2 separate regions of the Homo sapiens genome follow, and region 1 is linked to region 2. Evidence: promoter capture Hi-C in 16 types of primary human blood cells and fetal thymus (Javierre and others, 2016). All regions are on one chromosome and are shown on one strand. Each heading gives the region's core, a stretch centred on a gene start or on the middle of the fragment in contact. The rest is flanking DNA. Distances are from core to core; before and after follow the strand shown. Region 1 overlaps PCBP3 (poly(rC) binding protein 3). Region 2 holds the start of PCBP3 (poly(rC) binding protein 3).

The links. Contacts are between HindIII fragments. The CHiCAGO score rates a contact against its expected background, and 5 or more counts as called.
Region 1: a contact is called between a fragment that was not itself captured here and the fragment with the promoter of PCBP3 in region 2, in 1 of 17 cell types (naive CD4 T cells). The highest score is 6.8, in naive CD4 T cells.

What each region holds. Positions count from the first base shown.
Region 1 is chr21:45,881,093-45,887,303 of GRCh38, reverse strand. The region is part of intron 5 of PCBP3 (poly(rC) binding protein 3); the gene reads right to left. Among named protein-coding and RNA genes, the nearest start is that of PCBP3-AS1, 48 kb to the right of the region's middle. RefSeq lists an enhancer at 5,925-6,211. The HindIII fragment of the contact is 177 bases long and covers 4,794-4,970 here.
Region 2 is chr21:45,639,438-45,645,867 of GRCh38, reverse strand. It overlaps PCBP3 (poly(rC) binding protein 3), which reads right to left and starts at 2,143. Exons shown (of 18, transcript NM_001384156.1): 1 at 2,000-2,143. RefSeq lists silencers at 1,489-1,628, 1,949-2,938. The HindIII fragment of the contact is 8,393 bases long and covers 1-6,430 here.

The DNA of each region.
Region 1 (6,211 bases), core at 3,633-6,132, 240 kb before region 2:
AAATGGAGCACACAGTGCTTCCCAATCCTTCCTGCTAAAAACAACAAAACAGCCTGGATATTGTATCCACAACAAACACAAGAAGACTGAAATGCGTAGGAAAGGCAGACTAGCCAGGGACCAGGGCACACAGGGAACAGCGTGGTGGTGAACCCCTGGGCTTTCTCTATGTCTCTCAGACTTGGAAGTGGAAAAGCTGGCAAGCCGGAAATGCCAACAGGCACAGACAAGAAAAGGGCCTCAACAAAAGTCTGCTTTCTGCAGCCGAAGGGTCAGTGAAGGGACAGCACAGTGAGGCTGGAAATGTTGAGCAGCAGCTCCTTTATTCCACCAGGCACCACGGAGGACACGGTGCCCCTCCCCACCCACGCAGCAAAGGCCGCGTACAGAGCCTAGACCTCCGCCCTCACCAGGCTGTCAAGAGGCTCCCGAACCCCATGCGGGGGTGGCTTCAGAGCAGGCTGAGCAGGGACAGAGGCTCTCATCTCCACAGGTGGTGAGTCCTTGCCCCCTGGTGTCAGTGGAGGCAATGCGGGGTCAGTAATGAGGGAGCCCCCTCCTCTGAGCAGGGAGGTTTCTGCACAGGCCTCCAGGGCCCCAGAGCTCCCACCCTTGCCCAGCGGCAATGAGGCCTCCTCCACACCTCACCACATCCTCTGCCCTTGGTACCCGGGGCAATGAGGCCTCCTCCACACCTCACCACGTCCTCTGCCCTTGGTACCAGCGGCAATGAGGCCTCCTCCACACCTCACCACATCCTCTGCCCTTGGTACCAGAGGCAATGAGGCCTCCTCCACACCTTACCACGTCCTCTGCCCTTGGCACCCGCGGCAATGAGGCCTCCTCCACACCTCACCACATCCTCTGCCCTTGGCACCCGCAGCAATGAGGCCTCCACACCTCACCACATCCTCTGCCCTTGGCACCCGCGGCAATGAGGCCTCCACACCTCACCACGTCCTCTGTCCTTGGCACCAGCGGCAATGAGGCCTCCTCCACACCTCACCACATCCTCTGCCCTTGGCACCCGCGGCAATGAGGCCTCCTCCACACCTCACCACATCCTCTGCCCTTGGCACCCGCAGCAATGAGGCCTCCACACCTCACCACGTCCTCTGCCCTTGGCACCCGCGGCAACGAGGCCTCCTCCACACCTCACCATGTCCTCTGTCCTTGGTACCAGCGGCAATGAGGCCTCCTCCACACCTCACCACGTCCTCTGCCCTTGGTACCAGCAGAGGCCGAGTGGAAAGCCTGGACTTTCACTTCTTGTTTCCCCTGCTGGAGAAGTATCAGAGGCAGCCAGCTAAACAGAAGGTTTATATAACCAGAGTCTCATAACGTAATATCCAGAAGGTCCAGATTTCAAAAAGAAAATCACCTGTTATACAAAGAACCCAAAAGATCTCAAACTGAATGAAAGACAGTGTCAGCCCCAGGATGACAGAGCTGTCGGAATCCTCTGACAAAGAAGTGAAAGCAGCCTTCATAAAAATGCTTCAGCAAACAAGCAGGAACACTCTTTAAACAAATGAGAAAACAGAATAGAATACCTCCACAGAGAAGCCAGTTCCCACCAAGCTAATGGGAGATGCAGGCAACTGAAAGGGAACGACAGAACTAGAAAGAACCATAACAGAGTGAAAGAGTCAGGGGAGAGAAGCAGGGAGCTGTGAGAAAAAACAACAGAAAGTACCCCGTCCCAACAAGAGGGAGAACACAGACCGAAGACACACAGATGGGGCCCCTGAGACCTGTGGGACATGGGGAGGACCTAACATTCATGTCCTTAGGGTACCAGAAAAAGAGAACAAAGGGGATGGGGATAAAGGCTCTTGAAAAAATAATGGCTAAAACTTCCCAAATTTGGCAAAAAGTAAAAACCTACATATTTGAGAAGCTGAGTAAACCCCAAACAGGATAAATCCAAGGAAATCCACACAAACACACATTGTAGTCAAGAGTCTAAAAACCAAAGGCAAAGAATAATTCTTGCAAGCAGCAAGAGGGACATGACCCCATGCTACAGGAGGGAGACAATGGATGGCGTGGATTTCAGGCGAGAAGCACGGAGGCCAGGAGGACGTGGCCCCGAACTGCTCAGTGCTGAAAAGGACAGAAGTGCCAACTGGAATGATATATCCAGTGAAAATAATCAGGAATAAAGACATTATGGGATGAAGGAAAATGAAGAGAAGTTGCTGCCAGCGTGCCTACGCTGGGAGAAGGCCTAAGTCCTCTAAACAGAAATGAAATAATGATGAAATCTTGGAATATCAGGAAGGAAGAAAGAACATAGTAGGCAAACATGTGAGTGCATAGAAAGGCTTCACTCTCGAGTCCTCTAAACTATGATTGATGACTGATGCAAAAATTACAGCATTGTCTGATATGTACAGAATGCTTAGGAAATATTTAAAGCAACTACATCATAAATGAGGGACAGTAAAAAAATTATAAAGGAAGTTACAGTTTCTTCCCTCCAACTGGTGAAATGTTGACAGCAGTAGAATTGGTAACACATATATGCCTGGGCAACATGGCAAAACCCTGTCTCTACAAAAAAATTTAAAAAATTAGCTGGGTGTGGTGGTGCCTGTCTGTGGTCCCAGCTACTGGGGAGGCTGAGGTGGGAGGACGGCTGGAGCCTGGTTAGTCGAGGCTGCAGTGAGCCATGATCGTGTCACTGCACTCCAGCCTGGGCAACAGAGCAAGATCCTGTCTCAAACATTATACATGCACACACACGTGACATATATGTATATTTAGATGTGCATGCATGTTGCATATGTGTATGTTATATATGTGTATGTATACATGTGTATATACATGTGCTACATATATATATTTGTGTGTGTATATATATGCTATATACTTAGTATTCAGTATGTGTGTATATATATGATATACTACCTACAGCAAGCACTAAAAAAGAAAGCCATACAGATATATACTCTAAAATGCTACTGATAAAATAAAATTCCAAAAAAATGTACACTGACTCACAGGAAGAAAGAAAAAACTAAAACCAGAGAAACAAAAAACAAAGCCAACAAAATTAAAAATGAGGCTGGGTGCGATGGCTCACGCCTGTAATCCCAGCACTTTGGGCGGTCAAGGTGGGAGGATCACTTGAGCCCAGGAGTTCAAGGCCAGCCTGGGCAACACAGGAATACCTAGTCTCTACAAAATATAAAAATAAATTGGCTGGGCATGGTGGTGCATGCCTGTGGTCCCAGCTGCTTGAGAGGCTGGGGTGGGGGGATCACTTCAGCCCAGAAGAGGCTGCAGTGAGCCATGATCACACTACTGCACTCCAGCCTGGATGACAGAGTAGGGCCCTATCTCAAAATAAATAAATACAAAAGATAAATAAAAGGTGAAATGGCAGATTTAAGCCCTAACATCTCAATACCGTAATAACTTTAAGTATAAATGGTCCAAATACACCAATTGAAGCACAGATGGGCAGAGTGGATTTAAAAATATGACCCCATCATATGCTGTCTACAGAAAACTCACTTCAAATAGAACAATATAAGCAAACTGAAGATAAACTAATGGGAAAAGGCGTATCGTGCAACCATTAATCAAAAGAAAGCAGGAATGGCTATATTAATATCGGAAAAAATAGACGTCAGAGCAATGAAAATGATCAGAGACAGAGAAGGACATTACATAATGATAAAAGAGTCTAAATAAGCAATAGCAATCCTAAATGTGTATGAATCAAATAACAGAGCTGTAAAATATGTGAAGCAGAAACTAATAGTAGTGAAAAGAAAAATATAAAAATCCACAACGACAGCTGAAGACTTTATTACTGTCAACAACTGAAAGAACCACTGGGCAGAGAATTAGCAAAGGATTTGGAAGGACTCAACACCATCAACCAACGGGGCCTAACGAACACTTCCGGAACACTCTGTCCAGCATCAGCAGAATCCACACTCTCTTCCTGCATGTACAGAATCTATACCAGGATAGACCATACCCTTGGCCATAAAAGAAACCTCAGCAAATTTAACAGAATTGAAACCGTAGTGTATGTTCTCTGACCACAGCTGACTCAAACCAGAATCAATCATGGAAAGATAACAAGAAAAGTTCCAAGCACTTGGAAATGAAACACATATATGAACAATCCAAGGGTCAAAGAGGGAATCTCAAGGAACATCAAAAAACACATTGACCTGAATGAAAATAAAAACACAGCATATCAAAAATCGCAGGACACAACTACAGCAGTGCTGAGAGGGAAACCTGTGGCACGAAACACACACATTTGAAGAGAGAAAAGCTTCCAATCAATAATCTAAGCACTCATTTTAAGAATCTAATAAAAGAAGAACAAAATAAATCCAAGTAAGCAGAGGAATGAAATACTAAAGACCAGAACTTGGCGCTGGTGTAAGAACGACATGCAGGCCGGTGGAGGAGAGCGGAGAGCCTGGCAGGAAACCCCGCAGCTGCAGCCAATCCATCTACAATAAAGACACCAGGAACACACACGGGGAAGGACAGTTTCTTCAATAAACGGTGTTGGGGAAACTGGATGTCCCTGTGCAGAAGAATGAAATTAGACCCTCATCTCACACCATCTATAAAAATCAACTCAAAATGGGTTAAAGACTTAAATGTAAGATCTGCAACTGCAAAACCACTAAGAAAAAACACAGGGAAAAATTCCACGACACTGGTTTAGTTAATGATTTTTTTTTAAATATGGCCCTCAAAGTACAGGCAACAAAAGCAGAAAGTAGAGAAATGGGATTATATCAAACTGAAAAGCTTCTGCACAGCAAACAACAGAGTGAAGAGACAACCTAGGGAACTGGAAAAAAAACTGCAAACCATACAACATCTGATAAGGAGTTAATACTCAAAATGTGTAAGGAACTCAAACAACTCAATAGCAAGAAAACAAATACCAGATTTTAAAAAAATGGCAAAGAAACGGAATGGAAGCTTCTCAGAAGGAGACATACAAATGGCTAACAGGTATATGAAAAAGTGCACAACATCACTAATCACCAGAAAAATGCAAATTCAAACCACAATGGGATATCGGCTCATACCTGTTAGAATGGCTATTATCAAAAAGACAAAAGCTAAGTGTTGGTGAGGAGGTGGACAAAAGGGAACCCTTGTACAGTGCTGATGGGAAACTTAGTACAGTCATTATGGAGAACGGTACGGAAGTTCCTCAAAAAACTAGAAATAGAACCACCACAGGATCCAGCAGTCTCACTTCAGGGCATATACCCAAAGTCACTATAGTGAGGAGACACATGCAGGCCCGTGTTGATTGTGGCACAACTCACAACAGCCTAGATATGGTGGAATCAGCCTAAGTGTTCATAGAGAGACGAACGGATAAAGAAAATGTCACACACAGACATACACACAGAAAGAAGCCATGTCATCTGTGTCACTGCGGATGAACCTGGAGGACATTATAACAAGTAAAATGAACTGGGCACAGAAAGACAAATACTGCATGATCTCACATGTGGAATCTAAAAAAGTGCATCTCACAGAAGCAGAGGGTGGGAGGTGGCTGTCGGGGACTGCGGGGGGTTGGGGGAAATGGGAGCTGTTGGTCACTGGCACAAGTTCAGTTAGACGGGAGTCAAACAGGCTGGGGAGCTGCTGTGTGGCACAGTGACTATGGGTAAGAACAATGTATACTTGAAAATTGCTGAGAGTGATTTTAAATTCTTTATAGAGATGGGGTCTCTCTATGTTGCCTAGGCTGTTGCCTGAGGTAGGCAGGTCACTGGAGTCTAGGAGTTCAAGACCAGCCTGGGCAAAATAGACCCCATCTCTACAAAATGTTGAAAAAATTAGTTGGGTGTGGTGGAGTGCACCTGTGGTCTCAACTCCTGGGAGACAGGTGGGAGGATCACTCGAACCTCACCACAAACAAAGGTATGTGAGGTGATGGATATGTTAATTAGCTTGATTTAATAATTTCACACACAAAAAACATGAACACATAGAATTCAGCAATATACCACAAGAATTACATGCTATAACCATTCTTCCTGTGATGCAAGGCTGGCTCAGAGTTGGAAAATCTGTCTGTGTAATCTACCTTATTAACAGACTAAAGAAAGCACACAATCATATCAATGCATGCAGAAAAGCCTGTCACAAAACTCCATACCAACTCACGATAAAAATTAAAATGCTCAGAAAAAAACAGGAA
Region 2 (6,430 bases), core at 894-3,393:
CTGCCTTCTTCACTGAGAGGATACACAACTTACATCTACTAAAATCTGTTTCAGTGTTCACCTTTACAATAAAGCCATGAGACTTTTGTAAAAATAGAAATGATTCTGCCATTGACACAGGAACTGAAATAATCAAAACTGATACACAGAATCCAAATCTGAATAGCTAGATTGGTTCAAGAAGCTCGTGAGGCTTTTTCAAATTTATAAATGCAGCATGCTGTCAGCCTCCTCAGAACAATAGGGTAAAGAATAGCTTCTTCAAAACAGCTAGCAAAATACAACTATATGTTGAACTTTTTCGCATAAATAGCTAAAAACGTAACCACAAAGCTGTGTGGGTTTTCCCCCACCATGAGCATTATAAAGATATCTGGGAAAGTGATGTTTTGAGGTCCAAAAGCACCACTAATCAGCAGCACCTGGGGCAACGCCAGCCAAAAAGCCCTGAATTCTAGACAGAGTCCATTTTTTTCAGTTATAAAGACCCCATTTATCATCAAAACTTTTTCAAAACCTTATAATATTATCAACTAAGAAAATACGTGAAGCTACGTAAGTTCTAAACCATTCGTAATGAACTTGCACTGTATAAACAACAGCATCTACATACAAGCAAAAAAAAAAAATACTGCTCGAAAGTGAGACATCAGTTAGTCGGTCACTGCACTTGTTAGTTTTAAGGCCCCATGTTTTCTGACAGATCTCCAAGCCTGAAAACACCAGAACTATTTCTGCTTCTGTCGTGTGATGATCAATTAGGTCCTTTCAGATCTTGCAAATGATCCCTTTAGAGTGCCACTGTTCTACAAACACTCCTTTTGGGGCCAAAATAGGTATCTCTGACACGCTTTAAGATGATGAATTATTCTTGAATATGAGGAGGACTGGGAGTTAGTTCTCTTAAATAGGGAAGCACCCTTGCACACTCCTTTGGGATCCACATCTGAGAAAGTCCAAAGAAAAGAAAAAGGGCAACAGTTTGCCCCTGAAAGTGAGTTCAATTTCAGAGGGATATGTGAGGGCCTGTGCCAGAGGAATATTTTTGAAATGGGGGGAGTCTATAAGTTGCCCAGTCTAATCTCTAAAGGCCTCTCCGCAAGGCCCTGCTGCTCAAGATTCCTTCTGGCGAATCCCACTCTACAAACACTCAACAACTAAGAGTGCTACTGGCTCACATGGAGGGCTAACAAGACCTGCAAATCCAGGCTGCTCTGAAGGACGGTGGAAGATAACCAACCCCGAGCCACGAGATTTAGGACCCGACTTTTGGTTAACTTTCAAATTTCTTATGCCAGTAATATACTTCAGAGTGGCGCGGAGGGAATTGGAAAACATCACCAGGCAAAAAAAAGAAAAAAACTCTTTCACGAAACAAGACTTCCAATTAGAACACGTGTGGGGACAATAAGAAACACGTTCTAACCACCCCCAAAATTAAAATAAAACACAGCGAGCAACAAGAGAGACCTGCGCGCGCCCCACCGCCCGCGCGCGGCTCTCCGCAGGGTCACCGAGGGGTGAGGCCGCGCTCTCCCGGCGGCCGTCCAGGGGGAGGAGGCCCCGCGCCCCGCCCCGCCGCCCTCCAGCCGCCGCGGCCGCTCCGGGGTGTTCCCCAGATCTCTTCTCAATCAAGAGATGAAATTTGTGCCGTTTTGAAACTGAAGCCTCAAGTAGTCCAGACGTTTTCTGACCCACATCCGAGACGTTCTCGGCTTCCCGCCGCAACTTCCGAATTTGGGGAGGGGGCGGAGGCGGGCGGGCCAGGCCTGGCGACCGCACCTTGAGGGAGCGCGAGTCCCCTCGCTGCCCCGGGCCGCCGCAGGCGCCGGCGGCGGTCGGGGACGGCGCGACCCAGCCCGGGACCCCCGCCCGCCCCGGCTCGGGCGAAGTTTGCCGCGGCCCGGGGTCGCCCCGTCACTCGGCCTCCGTCGGGGACTGGGTCCCCGTAACCCGCAAGGGCGCCCGACCCCGACCCCGCCCGCCACCGCTCACTCACCTGCCCTGCGCCGGACGGCGAGCCCGCGGGCCGGCGGGGAGAGGCCGGGAGGCCCGGGCGGGGTCGGGGCGAGGCGGGTGAGGAGGCGGCGGCGGAGCCTAAGTCAGCCGAAGCGGCGGCGACCGCGGCTGAGGCGGCTGAGGCGGCGGTCGCGGCTTCAGGCGCTCCAGCCCGAGCGCTGCGCGCGGCGCGGGCCCGCCCCTCTGCGCCGCTAACCAATCTAGCGCCGCGCGCCGCCGCCGGCCCCGCCCCCGCCCAAGGGCAGGCTCGCGAAAGCGGGCGCCGCGGGCCAATGAAAGGGCGGAACATCAACCGGCGCGGCCAATCCGAGCCCGGAAAGTTCTCTGGAAAAAGCCAACTCCAGTCAAAGGGGCGGGGGTGGGGCTGGGGGCGGGGCGGGGACCTGGCCCAATGACGCGCGGGGCGGGGCCGAGCATTGGGCGGGGAGGAGGCGGGGCCTCGAACGGGCGGGCCGGTCACTAGTAGTGGGCGGGGTCGTAGGCGGGACATTGAGCGGGCGGGGCAAGAATCGGGGCGGGGGCCTAATGAAGTGAAGCGGGGAGGGGACGGGCAGTGGGAGGGGCAGGTCACATTTGGGGTGGGGTGGGGGCGGGGCAGGGGCGGGGCTGAGTACGGGAGGCCAGGCCGGGGAGAGGCCTAAGTCGGGGCGGGCGGGAGAAGGGCAAGAGCAGTGGGCGGGGCTCGGGGGTTAGGGGATTAGTGCCCTTGCTGGGGCGGGGCCCAGGCTTGGGGCGGGCCTGTGGTGGGCAGGGCCGTGGATGGGCGGGGCGAGCCTTCGTGGGCGGGCCAGGCCTGTGGTGGGCGGGGCGGGCCGTTGGTGAGCGAGACCTTGGTGGACGGGGCGGATCCGCGGTGGGCGGGGATTTGGCGGGCGGGCGGGTGGGCCCGACGGGACGGGAATGGCCGTTGAATTCCCAGCCGTGCCGCAACCCCGAAGGTCCCCCTGCAGCGCCCGCTTCCCGTTCTCTGTGGGCCTGGCCCCGGCCCGGAGGCTGGGGCCGCAGCGCCCGGCGGGCAGGGGCCCCGAGCGGCTCGTGAGCCTGTGCCCAGACGCTGCCCGCCCCGCGCTGGTCCCGCCGCCCTGTCCCCTCCGCCCGCCCGGCGTTCGCGTGCCGTGGCCTGGGGCGGGGCGTTGCTGGGCCCCGGGGGCTGCAGGGGGAGGCCGCCCTTTCTCTGGGCTGGCTCCGGGCTGTTCCGCTCCGCGCCGTTTTCCCGGTACTTCCCGCGGAGCCCGCCTCGCTGTGCGTCCCCGCCCGGGCGTTTCTTCCGCGGCGCTGAGCGCCCGCCCCGGCCTCGGGCAAGGGCAGCCGGACGCCCCGAGGACCAGGGCGCTGGGGCCGAGGCGCGTCCTCCGCAGTCGCCGCGCCTGGGCCCCGTTTCCCCGCGGGTCCTCGCCGGGGTGGGAGGCGCCTCTTGGCGTCCGTGGGGAGCTGGGTGTGGGGGGCGGCAGGGCAGGAGGTGGGGGGGCTGAGCCGGAGAAACGTCCTCGCCCCGCCCGAGACCTCAGACACCCCAGAACCTCGGGCCGGCAGCCAGCTGCAGGAATCGCGCCCTAAAGCCTGGGGTCCGCGCCCGCCCGCCTCCCGCGAGCGCCAGGGGCTGCCGGGTCACCGGGATGCAGCCTCGAGGCGACGTCACAGACCCCACGCGGCCCCCCGAGCACCCCCGGAGCCGGCGCGGGGACAGGGGTTCGGGATGGACGGAACCCACGCAGGGAACGTTCCGGGCCGTCTACGCCAGGCTCAGGGCGGCCGTCAGCTGGGGTTGGAGGTGGGTCAGGAAGAGATGTGTCCTTTTGTCTCCAAATGTCGCTTGTGTCATTAAAAGACAACCTTAAAATAGAAGAAAAAAAAAAAAAAAAAGCCTGGGCTGGCGTGAGGAGGGGCCGTCCGCGAGCTACGGAGGCTGAGTCGGCGGGGAAGGGAATGTGGAGTGGGGCGGGGGGGGCGCTTGGCGAACCCGTGCTTTGGACGCGCTTGGCGGTTTCGGGGAGAATGAGAATGGAGGGGAGGGAGGCCAAGGCCTGCAGCCTGGTGGGAATGCTGGGAAGGACGCTGTGGACAGGACCTTACTGGAAATGAACCAGAAGGGAAGGTGGGCCGGGCGCGGTGGCTCGCCCCTTAATCCCAACGCTTTGGGAGGCCGAGGCAGAAGGATCGCTTGAGCCCAGGCGTTGGAGACCCGCATGGGAAACATCGTGAGACTCTGTTTTTAGAAAAGGAGGAGGAGAAGGGATACTGGGCGGCCTCTGCCACACCTGGACTCTGCGGGCAGGGGGCCAGAGGGACCCAGGGCTGCTGTGCTGGAGCTGGAGCTGGCGCGAGGGTCTGGGCAGAGCACTGTCAGCGCCCCCAGATTACAGGCTGCCAGCCTCCCCCGGTCCTCTGCGGGAGCCTGCGGCCTCAGCTGCCTGCCCCGCCGGCTGAAAGACACAGTTAGTCATTAGGAAAGTAATGATAGTGTTTTCAGGGCAGCGTGTTAGACCCTAAAGACTTTCTATTATTTGCAGTTCCTGCCAACCCTGTGAAGAAAAAAAGCAGCTCATCTCTCACGCCCCGCCTCTTGACACACGCTGATCCGGCCTGGTTCTGGGTTTTCCCGGAGCCTGCAGGGCAGCCCCGCCCCAGGCGGCAGCAGCTGGGCCTGCAGCGTGTCCCTCATGGTGCCCGGCCTCCAGGTCCAGAGTTTCCTGCCTCCCTGAGCTCGGGGTGCGCTGTCTCCACCCTCTCATGGCCGTCAGGGTGCTGGTCCCGTCAGAAGTGCACCCAGGGGCTCGCATTTATAAATAACTCCAGGGTGTCTTGCTGTGGGTTTGGAAATCGGGAAGGCAGGTTATCATCTGCTTGGAATGATGTCAGATCCAGCCCCAGGAAGTCTCCCAGCACCCGGCCTTCCTGCTTGTCATGGGCTGGGACATCTGGAGGGGTAGGGGCGAGGGCCTTCTGTAGCTCCACATTAGCTGGCTAAAGTGTGGGGAAAACAGTAACACACAGAAAGCAATCATAATAGTAATTAACGTCAAAACCTTGCAAGATGTTTAGGCCTCCCAGGAGCCCTGGAGAAGCCCAGCCCTTCCACATAACACCAGCACTCCCAGCGGCAGGGCCTCCATCCCCCTGCTGGGGAGGGAGATCCGGAGTCTGGGTGGAGTGTGTGGTCTCTGGCCTTCAGCAGGACTACACTCCAGGCTGAGCCTTTCCTCAGGCAGAATTCATACCCTTACCTCAGCCTACAACCCCAGCACACATGTTACCTAGGGGCAAATTAGTACTTTGCCCTCATGTCCTCTTCACAAAGCACTGGGGTAGAAGTCCTTCTTCCAGGGACCAGCAGCACCCAGCCCCTGCTTCCCCAGGCTCCTGCCCTGCACAGGGACCGCTGCCACTGCCCACCAAAAGCTGCTGGGGGGTGTTGGGGCTGGCTCAGCTGAGCTCACACAGGATCCTCTGATGGCCAAAGTGCTGGAGTGGAAATCAGAGACCAAGAAGCCAATCCCTGTGCCAGCTGCCCTGGTTAGGGAAATACAGAAACTAAAAATAGTTCCCACTTCCGCTTCCTCCTTTTTATATCAGCCTCATCATAAGTGCACCTGACCTAACTTACCTGGTGCTGTGGTGTTTGTACTTGGATTAGGTGAAGCAGCTCAGGGGTCCCCTCATGCCCTCTCCCCTGTCCCCCTGCTGAAGAGGCAGCTCCCACATGCGGCACTGCCTGACTGGCCCCTGGCCTGGGCCTGGGACCCTGCAGAGAGACAGCAAGCCATGGCCAGAAGGCTTGCAAGGTGCCCCCAGCTTGGGTGATGGTGACACCCAGAACAGGGCACTTCCTGGAAATGTGATCTGGAAGGGCAGTGGGCATGAGTGGAGCATGGAAAGAGACACCCAGGACGGACGGAGAGAGGCATCTGGTGTAGGTGGGGCTGCAGCCACCTCTCCTCTTCGGGGCTGGCAAGGTAACCCTTGCCCTGTGCCCCACAGCTGCCCTGATTTCCGGGTGTCTCCCAGAAGCACACTCTGCACTGCTTCTGCATCCCGGCCACTCCTTCAGTGTCCAGCCCCCTTCCCCAGCATAGAATGAACACAGAGAGGATGGGGAGTGCCTGCTCTGCCGACATGAGGGGCTGGCAGTGACATCTGTCCCTGTCATAGGCACAAAAAGTTATCAATGTTGGTAAGCTGGATTCAAGCCATGCACGGAAGCAGATGGCTCTGCCCCAAAGGGTAAAACATCCTGGAAGTGAATTGGATGGAGTCTCACATAGAGCAGCCCATCGGCTTCTCTGGCAGTGTGCCCTGGTTTTAGCAGAAAATAATCACAGGGTCTCTAATATCTGGCTGTGGAGAAGCACCCAGAACTCCCCCAGTTGCCCTCATGATCCCTAATGGACGAGGGATGGGTCCTGTGTCCTCT